3 separate regions of the Homo sapiens genome follow, and regions 2 and 3 are each linked to region 1. The links are contacts of gene promoters, found by promoter capture Hi-C in human tissues and cell types (Jung and others, 2019). All regions are on one chromosome and are shown on one strand. Each heading gives the region's core, a stretch centred on a gene start or on the middle of the fragment in contact. The rest is flanking DNA. Distances are from core to core; before and after follow the strand shown.

Region 1 (3,282 bases), core at 333-2,832:
CCAAGCTTTCCGGGCCGTCTCCTCATGACCACCAGGGTAAAATTTTCCAAATCGTGCCTGGAGCCTGTCAGCCAGCCTCCTTCATCCTTGGTCTCCCCTCTGTTTACCCCGAATCTTCCTCTTTTCAGCTTTCCCCAACTCGGCTCAGGCCGCTCTCCTCCCTAGATGCTCTCGGTGCTTACCACGGCCTCTAAGACTAATTCCAAAGCCCTTGGCCCGAGTCCCGTGGTCCACCACGCCCCCAGATTGTCAGCTGTAACCGTTTATGACCGTAGCGTAAGCACCTGCTGGTCTTTCCACCTGGTATGTTTTTGCCACTTCCTTTACTCAGAACTTCACTCGGTCTTCCAGGTTCAGCTCAAATGCCACTCCCTCCAGGAAGCCCTGCTTAATCCTGCCTGCTCTTTCCTCTTCACTGCTCTAGGGTCGGAGGTCTGTCCTTTACTTTGCACAAATTACTAAACGAGTCTTCGCTCCAGGGGACAAAAATGATAGGGCAGAGAATGAACCCCTCCACCAGCCCCCGTAGAAAGTACACCCCTGCTCCTGACCCCAGTCTCTCCCATTGTAGCTCTGCTCAAGGCCCCAAACACAAAACGCCACACTCTCGGGAAGGCACCGTTATGCACCACCAAGAGCTGCTCCACACCCCCAGCCGAGGCAGGCAAAGGTGGAGGCGCTCACAGGAGCAAGGGAACGCCCCTGGGCAAAATCGCCCGGCCTCCAGCCTGGGCTTGGGCGTCTCCAGGTCGGCGGGAAGGGCTGAAACGCAAGTATCCCAGGACGCACACACATCCCTCCATCCCGGAGCACAGCCAGGCGCCCGAGGCCTCCACGCGGACACGCACGTGTGCACCGAGCACGCACACCCCTCACACTGTCACACGCCCCTGCCCGCTCCTCGAGCCGCTACCTCCGGACCCCCGGGGCTCGAGCCGGGGCCAGCGACGTCGCCGTCGCGGATGCTCAAGTCGTAGACGGCGCCGTCGAGCAGCACCGCGGGTCGGTAGAGGCGCGGCCCGTCCGTGGGCCGGTGGCGCTCGGGGTAGTCACCGAACAGGAACTGGCGGATGATGGCCGTCTTGCCCACGCCCGGGGCGCCTAGAACGGCCACCCGCAGGCTACCCCCCATGGCCGGCCGGCGCTGTCGCTCCCCGCGCTGGAAAGCCTCATGGGCCGGCGCCGCACCGTGCGCCCCCAGGCCGTGCGCCCCGCGCGCCCTGCCCGGTGCGCCACGGCCCCGTCGCGCTTCTCGTCGCCCCTCGGAGCACCGAGACCGGAGAGGGCAGGCCCGAGGCAGGAGCTGGCGGCGGGAGGGCAGACAGACAGCCGAGTGGGCAGACAGGTGGCGGGCGCGCGAGCGGCTCGGGCGGGTGCCGAAGCTCGAGAGAGAGCAGAGCCGGAGCGGCGCTCAGACACCGCCTCCGCCCCGCAGCGCCAACCCAGGCGCCGGCGGACGCGCGAGGCGCCGAAGTCCGCCCCTCTCGCGGCGCGGGTCCCGCAGCGGTGCGGGGCGCGGGGGGCAGCGCTGCCTCCCGGAGCCTCTGTGCCTCTATCCTTCTCTCGCTTCCGCGCCTGGAGTCGCCGCCCCAGCCGCCGGCGCGAGCGAGCGGGGCCTCCCGGAGGCGGCGATGAGGTAACCGCCCGCCCCTCCCACCTTCCCCCACCGCCCAGGACGCCCCTCCCAGGAAGGGTCGCAGGAAGGTGACTGGGGGACAGAGATCCCGGAGAGGGCCTACCCCTTCCTTACCTCCTCCGCGTGTCCCGCTCCTCTCACCCGCTCCAAAATAGAAGCCCCTTCCCACCCACTGCCGCGGCCGCTCTTCCAAACACTGCTCGCCCCCACGCTGGCTCCCGACAAGCCCCGGCCCCCGGAGTCAGGCCGCCCGGGGTCCGAATTGGGGGGGGCGGCTGTGTGACCTTGGGCGAATCGCCGCACTGCGCTGGGTCTGCGCTCCGCATCCATCACAGGCAGACTCCTCAAGAGGCTCCAACCTTTTCTTGAGAGCCTACTATGTGCCAGGCCCATTACCTACGTGATTCTCGAACCTACAGCCTCAGCCTGGCATCGCTGGTTGAGAGAAGAGGAAACAGGCCCGAGAGGGGAATCTGCAAGGTTAGAAGGGCAGTGGGGGGGCCCTTGAAGTCTCCTTTGAAGTCCCTCCTACCTTCCTCCTGCCCACGGGGGTAAATGGCCCACACTAGACAATATTCAAACAGCCGTCCTCGAGGGGAAGTGGGGACAGAGGGTGCCGAGACCACAGCAGCTTAGCCCCAGATCCCTGTCCCAGCAAGGCTGGAGGTGACTAAATAAAGATCCAGAAATTGGCCCACTCCACCTCCATCACTACTAAGGTCACCTTTCCTGCGTGAGTTGCAACCCGTAGCGCCCCTCAAAGGGATGCAACCTCCAAAACAGGCGCCCAGAGCCCAAGTTCCCCCTCCCTCGAGCTAGTGGAGAAGCTCCTGCCCCATCACAGCTTGGAAAGCCTGGGTTAGCCCAGCCCCCCCATCCTCCGCCTCTGCTCTCCTCCCCGCTGTGTGGGGGCTCCCACGTCTCTGACCTGCACATGGCAATGCTCAAGAAATGGCGGCAATGCTCAAGAAATGGCCGCAATGCACAGATCTCTGCACTGACTAAGGAGTTCATTTATTTATCCCCTCAACAAATATTCCAAATCTTATTGCTTGTCAGGAGGCTGAGATAGATTTAAAAAACAGAAAACAGGAAAAAAAAAAAAAGTTCTGCTTTGGGAGAGAAGGTTCTAGAACACATGGGATCTAGGGACTGTCAAAGCACAGACAATGTGCCCACACCAGCCCAGGGGAAGTAGAGGAGCTAAATCCTGAAGGGGGAGGAGGCACATCCTCCAGGGAGCCTGTATAATGACAACCAGAAAGTGTCTCCAGAACAATGGCTGTGCTTTCATCCTCCCATGCTAGATCGGGGGCTGGGGTCCGCTTTCACTCCTCTCCTCAGCCACTAGGAAGCTCAGAACCACCTCTGTCTAGTGTTCCAGGTCTTCTAGCTCAGTGAGTGGGGACTGCTGGCTTCATCTTTCTTTCCTACCATGATTTTTCCCTTCACTTGATGTCCTCTTTCACGTTGTAACTTTTCAGACTTCTGGGTTTTGTTGTTTGAGACAAGGTCTTGCTCTGTCACCCAAGCTGGAGTGCAGTGGTGTGATCTTAGCTCACTGCATCCTCAACCTCCTGGGTTCAAGTGATCCTCCTTGCCTCAGTCTCTCAAATAGCTGGGACTGCAGGTGTGTACTACGACAT
Region 2 (3,282 bases), core at 546-3,045, 1.4 Mb before region 1:
ACTAAAATCATTTCCATTTTGGAGATGTGGAAATCAAGGCTCAGAGTGAGGGTTAAGTTATAACTTGTGTAGATTCCCAGTGGCTTTTTAATGGATCTCCCTTAGTGCCTCCGACACTTACAGATTCCCTGACCATTGAAAACGTACCACTAGTGTAACAGAAATTATCAAATTCTGGCAAATACCATGAATAGGGCATCACACAATTGCCAATGATGCAACAGGGCATAAAAGGTACAGAACGGTGATCTAGGAGTCACTGGATTAAGAGTTAAAATCTGCTACATCTCCATACCTTACACACTGCTGTAACTACCACCGAATCAGGTGTTCCAGAAATGGCAGACATTCTGCTGTTTCTCCTACAACTATTACATGTGTTTCTCTGCCCAAGTTTCTCAACTATATAAAATAAAGCAGCTGAACTTACACCACAGGAAGGTTGTAAAGATTAAATGTAACCTTGTATAGTACCTGGTACCAAGGAAAAGTTTCTTTACCCCTAGTCAGTCTGGTGCAGACAGGAAGTAAATACTGCAATAATTCAGAGGGAAAATACCACCATCAGACAAGTAAGGAAAAGTTTCAAAGAAATCATAGGATTTGCATTTAGCTTTGAATAGACTTTGGAATCTGTACTGGTAAGGCAGGTTTCTGCTGAAGGGTATGTGTGGGATGGTTCACAGAGGCCTTTTGAGAGAGAGACTGTGGAACTACCAGGCAGCTCTTCTATAAGAACATTCTTCAACACTACCCTGGTTAAGTGGGTCCACAATAAGATTTCTTCTTCCTTTCAGCCATAATTATCATGTTTGTTCCCTATTTCTTCCTTGCATTTCAGAAGTATAAAAATTTCCAACTATTATCGTTCCCCAGTGCTACCCTCAGTGCCTCCACCAGGACAGTAATTGGCAAAGAGGGCCTGCTGAACATGTTTACAGAAGACACTGGTAAGATCAAGTCCAAAGGTTCCTATTTTCCTGTATGCCATATTATCAGCTATCTTCTTACGCTTTATTTCCCTCCACAGCAGCAAGTGGATGGCTTAATTATTATCAGTTATTCTTGACTGCACTAGTTATTTCTGAGATCACAGTAATTCACAGAAATTCAGTCAGGCAGTAGCTGAATTTATAAGAGTAGCTGGATACACCATCATCTGGATAAAATGAACAATCAACAGGCAAATGGGCAGAAACAACCAGCACCCTATCAGCCTAATAAGTTACTGTTTAACACAGGGGGGAAAATGGAAAAAAACTGCAGTTCTGCAATCTGCAGAAATACAAAATTCACATTATTTCTAAGAACTAAACCTATTCTAGAATTTCAATCATTAGTCAATAATAAAAGACAAAGCAATATCAGTTACAAATCAGGCCAGACATGGTATATATTCCAAGTTCCTAAAAAGTTAGAAATCAGTACAAGTCATAGTATCAAACTACTTTTGCTGCCTGTTATAAAATCAGGAGTTCCTATAGGAAGGATCTGAGCCCAAACATAAAGCCCACCACATAATGTAGCATTGTCTTTTAATGTTTATACTTGAAAAGCTAATAATTTCAAGAAAATACAATATTTAATTCACCTCTGGGTCTCAACCTCATGCCCCTTTACTCCCTGTAAAAGTATTGTCAGCTAGAGCTACTACTCACTGGAACAAGATGTACTTTTTTAGAAGTTACAGCACCAGTGGAGGTAGCCACCATCTGGGCTGCTCTCTGGCATGGTGTCCTTGTTTAGAAGACCAGTGTGAAATCTCAAAGGGCTTCTCCTCCAACTAAGATTGAGTTCTAAAGTCTGAAGCTAGAAATCTGGAAAAGGCTGGGGACACTAAATCCATTAAAGCAAATTTACATCAAGCAGGCTGAATTTGTTAATTTATAAGTGGTATATATCACTTTCTGGGTAATATAGATTGGGAATTTGTCCCTGCTCAAATCTCATGCTGAAATGTAATCCCCAATGTTGAAATGCAATCCCTAATGTTAGAGGTAAAGCCTCTAACAGGTGTTTGCATCATGACTGCAGATCCTTCATGAATAGCTTGGGCCATCCCCTTGGTGATAAGTGAGCTCTCACTCTGAGTTCACACGAGATCTGGCTGTATAAAAGTGCATGGCACACTTCCCCTGCCCCACTTCCACCATGTGAGACGCCTGCTTCTCCTTTGCCTACCATGACTGTAAGCTTTCTGAAGCCTCCCCAAAAGCAGATACCAGCACTATGCTTCCTATACAGTGTGCAGAACCGTGAGCCAATTAAGCCTGGTTTTTTTTTTTTTTTTTTTTTTTTTTTTTTGGGACGGAGTCTCACTCTGTCGCCCAGGTTGGAGTGCAATGGTGCAATCTTAGCTCACTGCAACCTCTACCTCCCGGGTTCAAGTGATTCTCCTGCCTCAGCCTCCTGAGTAGCTGGGATTACACGCAAGCACCATCGTGCCCAGCTAATTTTTGGATTTTTAGTAGAGATGGGGTTTCAACATGTTGCCCAGGCTGGTATTGAACTCCTGACCTCAAGTGATCCACCCACCTCAGCCTCCCAAAGTACTGGGATTACAGGCGTGAGCCACTGCACCTGGCCCAAGCCTCTTTATATATAATACCCATTCTCAGGTTCTTTGTAATAATGCAAGATTGGCCTAACATGCTAAGTATTAAAACTGGGAGAATTCTGAACTAAACTCTACCCAGAGAACAAATGTGAAAATAATATAGTTATGAATCATTTCTTATAAACCAAAGTCAAATTCATTTTTCCTTTTAGTTGATGCACAAGACAGTCCACAAAACAGTCTAACACCCAGGGAGAACCACTCAATGAGTTCTCTGTGGGGCTGTAACAGTAATCCTCTTATCTGCATGCAACTAGTACCTAGACATCACTTATCGATGACCTGTAACTGGCTTCAGCACAGACAGACTGGTTACCAAGTAAGACCCTGGGAGTGGAAAATCTGCTCTGGGCATGTTTAAGTTTTTATGCTCTTCTCTTGTCAAATTAGCTGTAGTAACTTGCCAATAACACATTAAGACTTCTTTAAGGATCTGTCATTTAGTTTAGTAGATGTCTTTAAAATGCATTATATTTCTATAGCAATTTAAATTATTACCTTGACATTACCTTACTTCCATGAATAAAGTAAGGGTGTGCACTTTATTTAAAAACAACTACTGGCTGGGCGCAGTGGCTCATGCCTGTAATCCCAACACTTTGGGAGGCCAGGGCGGGTGGATCACCTGAGGTCGGGAGTTCGAGACCAGCCTGACCAACATGGAG
Region 3 (3,282 bases), core at 285-2,784, 1.4 Mb before region 1:
GTGGAGGCGAGGTTTCACCATGTTGGTCAGGCTGATCTTGAACGCCCGACCTCAGGTAATCCAGCCGCCTTGGCCTCCCGAAGTGCTGGGGTTACAGGTGTGAGCCACCGCTCCCGGCTCATGTGTACATTTATCTAAGGGAGAGGTTTGTAGCTTTCATTTGCCTTGCTTTCTCTGCGTTTTGCCATCCCATTTCTTTTTATCTTCTGCACATTCCAGAATGATCTTGATTGAGGATCTTTCTATGAAAACTAGAAGTATTCCCAAGAATGCTTTAATTTTGTTAAATATCAGGGCGTAGGTTATAATATTGTATCACTCTGGGACGGACAGGGTTAGGCTTTGGAGTAGAAAGACCCTAGCCTCAATCCTGCACTTACTCTGCCACTTACTGTTCTGAACCTTGAGAAAATGACTTAATCTCTCAGAGATTCAGTTTACACTGAAACTCAGTTTTACACATCTGAAAAAAGAGGACTATTAATATCTGCAACAGATTTAAGGACTAACAAATATGAAGTATATAAAGCACCTATGTTATCTACTTTACTGGATACATAAGTGTTCAGTGAATGGGAACCATTTAAAAGCTTACAAAAAGCAGGAACAGTAATTGAAGATATCAGTCTATAGAGTAACCACTATGTTTATTCATTATTTGTTACTCTAATACTTGCATAAGAACGTATATGTGCATTCATGCGTGTATACATATTGGCCATCATTACCTTTTGTCTGTTGTGTATAATACAGATTCTTGTTCTTCTGTGTCATCACCAACATGTAATATTGTCAGAATTTTTATTTTTTGTCAGTTTATTGGTTTTAAAACTCTTATCTTGTGTTCACTTTGCATTCCTTGCAGGTTGAGGATGTTTTGTTTTCTGGTCTTAGTCTCATTCTTCCTTCTTTTTCCTGTTGGTCTTGTTCTTTTCTTTTTGATTTGTAGGGTATATTAGGATGGTGCAAAAGTAATTGAGGTTTTTGCATCGTTGAAATTTGTCATTTGATACTGGAATACCCTCTTAAACCTTCTTAAATGTGGTTATGTTATACATCATTTTAATGGGCATTTCTCACTTTGTTTTTTTTTTTTTTGCTAATGACTTATTACTTGCTGTTTATATTTATTTTAGACTATGGAAATGATATTAGACAAAAAGCAACTTCAAGTGGTTTTCTTATTTGAGTTCAAAATGGGTCATAACGCAGCAGAGATAACTTGAAACATGAACAGCGCATTTGGCCCAGGAACTACTAACGAACATACAGGGCAGCTGTGATTCAAGAAGTTTTGCAAAGCAGACTAGAGCCTTGAATATGAGGAACACAGTGGCCAGCCATTGGATGCTTCACTTCTTGAAGCATCTTGACAGCTTTTTGCAGGTGAAATGCTTCCACACCAGCAGGATGCAGAAAAATGCTTTCCAAGAGTTTGTTGAATCCAGAAGCATGGATGTTTATGCTGCAGGAATAAACAAATTTATTTCTCGTTGGCAAAAAAGTGTTGATTGTAATGGTTCCTATTTTGATTAATAAAGATGTGTTTGAGCCTAGTTATAATGATTTAAAATTAATGGTCCAAAAATGCAATTACTTTTGCACCACCACCAACACACACACACACCTACACATTCTGGATTTGAATTCCATGTTGATTATATGCACTTGGAATATTTCTTTTCCATCTGTGGATTGTTCTGTCACTTATTTTCTTTAATAAATGGGTTTCTGAACCTCTGTTGTATTGACATTTTGGGTCAGATTATTCTTTGCTGTGTAGGCTGTTCTATGCCTTGTAGGGATGTTCAGCAACATCCCTGGCCTCTATTGGCCAGGTGCCGGTAGTACCCCTCCAGTCATGACAGTCAGCAGTGTTTCCAGACATTGCCTAGTTTCTCCTGGGGGGCACAATTGCCCTAAGTTGAGAACCACTGGTTATAGTGACTTTGTTGTGTAGTTATCCTGCTAACATTTTTTTATTATATGCCAGACAAGCCTTAAGTGTTTCATATGAATTAATCCTAACTCATTTACGCATCACAACAACATATGATGTAGATATTATTGTCCCTATTTTAAAGAGGAGAAATCTTATGTCCTCTAATATGCAGAAAATGTTAACTTTACCAAGCTATAACTTACATATAAAATGCACCTATTTGAAGTGTACAGCTGTAGGGTTTTGTTAAAGGTATACTCAGACTTCTGTAGAGTTTCATATCATTTATCATATAGTCCTTTTTGTATCTTCTAGCATAATGGTTCTGAGATTCCTGAATGTGTGTCATTCAGACCTTTTCATTGCTCAGTGGTATTCCTTTGTGTGGATATACCAGAAATTTTTTATCCGTTTACCTAGTGATGGATTTTTCAGTGCTATACAGTTTTTGGTCATGATAAAGTTGCCATGACTAGATGTATAGAAGTCTTCCTGTGGATATATGTTTTCATTTCTGTTGGATTATAAGGTAAGTGTATGTTTGGGAGAAGTGGCCAACAATTTACAAAGTGGTGGTACCATTTTGCATTCCCAGCAGCAATGCATGAGAGTCCAGTTACTCCACATCCTCATCAACACATTTTAGCCACTCTAGTGGAAATGTGGTATCTCATTGTAGTTAAATTTGCAGTTCTCTGAAAACTAATGATGTTGAGCACTTTTTCATGTACTTATTGGTCATTTGTACATGTTTTGTCAAGTAACTATTCAACTCTTGCCCATTTTCAAATTGTTCTTTTTCTGTTTTTGAGTTGGAAGAGTTATTTGAATATCCTACATATAAGTCCTTTCTCAGATGTTTGTGTTATGAGTATTTCCTCCCAGTCAGCTGCTTGCCTTTTCATCTTGGTGGTATATTTCAAACAGCAGAAATTTTAAGTTCTGATGAAGTCTAGTTTCTCATTTTGTTTTATGGTTCATGCTTTCTGTGTACTTCCTGAGAAATCTTTGCCTAAGCCAGAGGCACAAAGATTCTTATTTTACTATGTTTTCTTCTGCAAGTTTTAAAGTTTTGGCTCTTACATTTAGGTCTGTGAGCCATTTCAAATAAGTTTTGGTGTATATGTGAGGTAAGAATCAAGTTTGATTTTTTTTTTTGCATATGTATATCCAATTGTAGCCCCCATTATTAAAAAGACATTTCCTTTACTCATTTGTTGAAAATCAGTTGACTGTGTGTATGCGGGTCTGTTTCAGGAGAGTGTTCTGTTCCATTGGTCAATATGTTTATGTAATACCACACTGCTTTGATTACTATAGCTATATAGTAAGTCTTGAAA

Evidence for each region. The method cuts DNA at HindIII sites, captures the fragments that hold promoters and counts their contacts. A contact is called where the count stands out against the background at its distance.
Region 2: a fragment that was not itself captured here is called in contact with the fragment with the promoter of RASL10A in region 1 in 2 of the 25 tissues and cell types used here (dorsolateral prefrontal cortex and spleen).
Region 3: a fragment that was not itself captured here is called in contact with the fragment with the promoter of RASL10A in region 1 in 1 of the 25 tissues and cell types used here (dorsolateral prefrontal cortex).

Annotation. Positions count from the first base shown.
Region 1 is chr22:29,314,115-29,317,396 of GRCh38, forward strand. It overlaps RASL10A (RAS like family 10 member A), which reads right to left and starts at 1,583. Exons shown (of 3, transcript NM_006477.5): 1 at 914-1,583. The coding sequence starts at 1,132. RefSeq lists enhancers at 1-774, 775-1,579. The HindIII fragment of the contact is 15,140 bases long and covers 1-3,282 here.
Region 2 is chr22:27,869,808-27,873,089 of GRCh38, forward strand. The region is part of intron 8 of PITPNB (phosphatidylinositol transfer protein beta); the gene reads right to left. Among named protein-coding and RNA genes, the nearest start is that of PITPNB, 48 kb to the right of the region's middle. The HindIII fragment of the contact is 6,796 bases long and covers 1-3,282 here.
Region 3 is chr22:27,923,211-27,926,492 of GRCh38, forward strand. All of the region lies in intron 1 of TTC28-AS1 (TTC28 antisense RNA 1), which reads left to right. Among named protein-coding and RNA genes, the nearest start is that of MIR3199-1, 4.2 kb to the left of the region's middle. The HindIII fragment of the contact is 4,991 bases long and covers 1-3,282 here.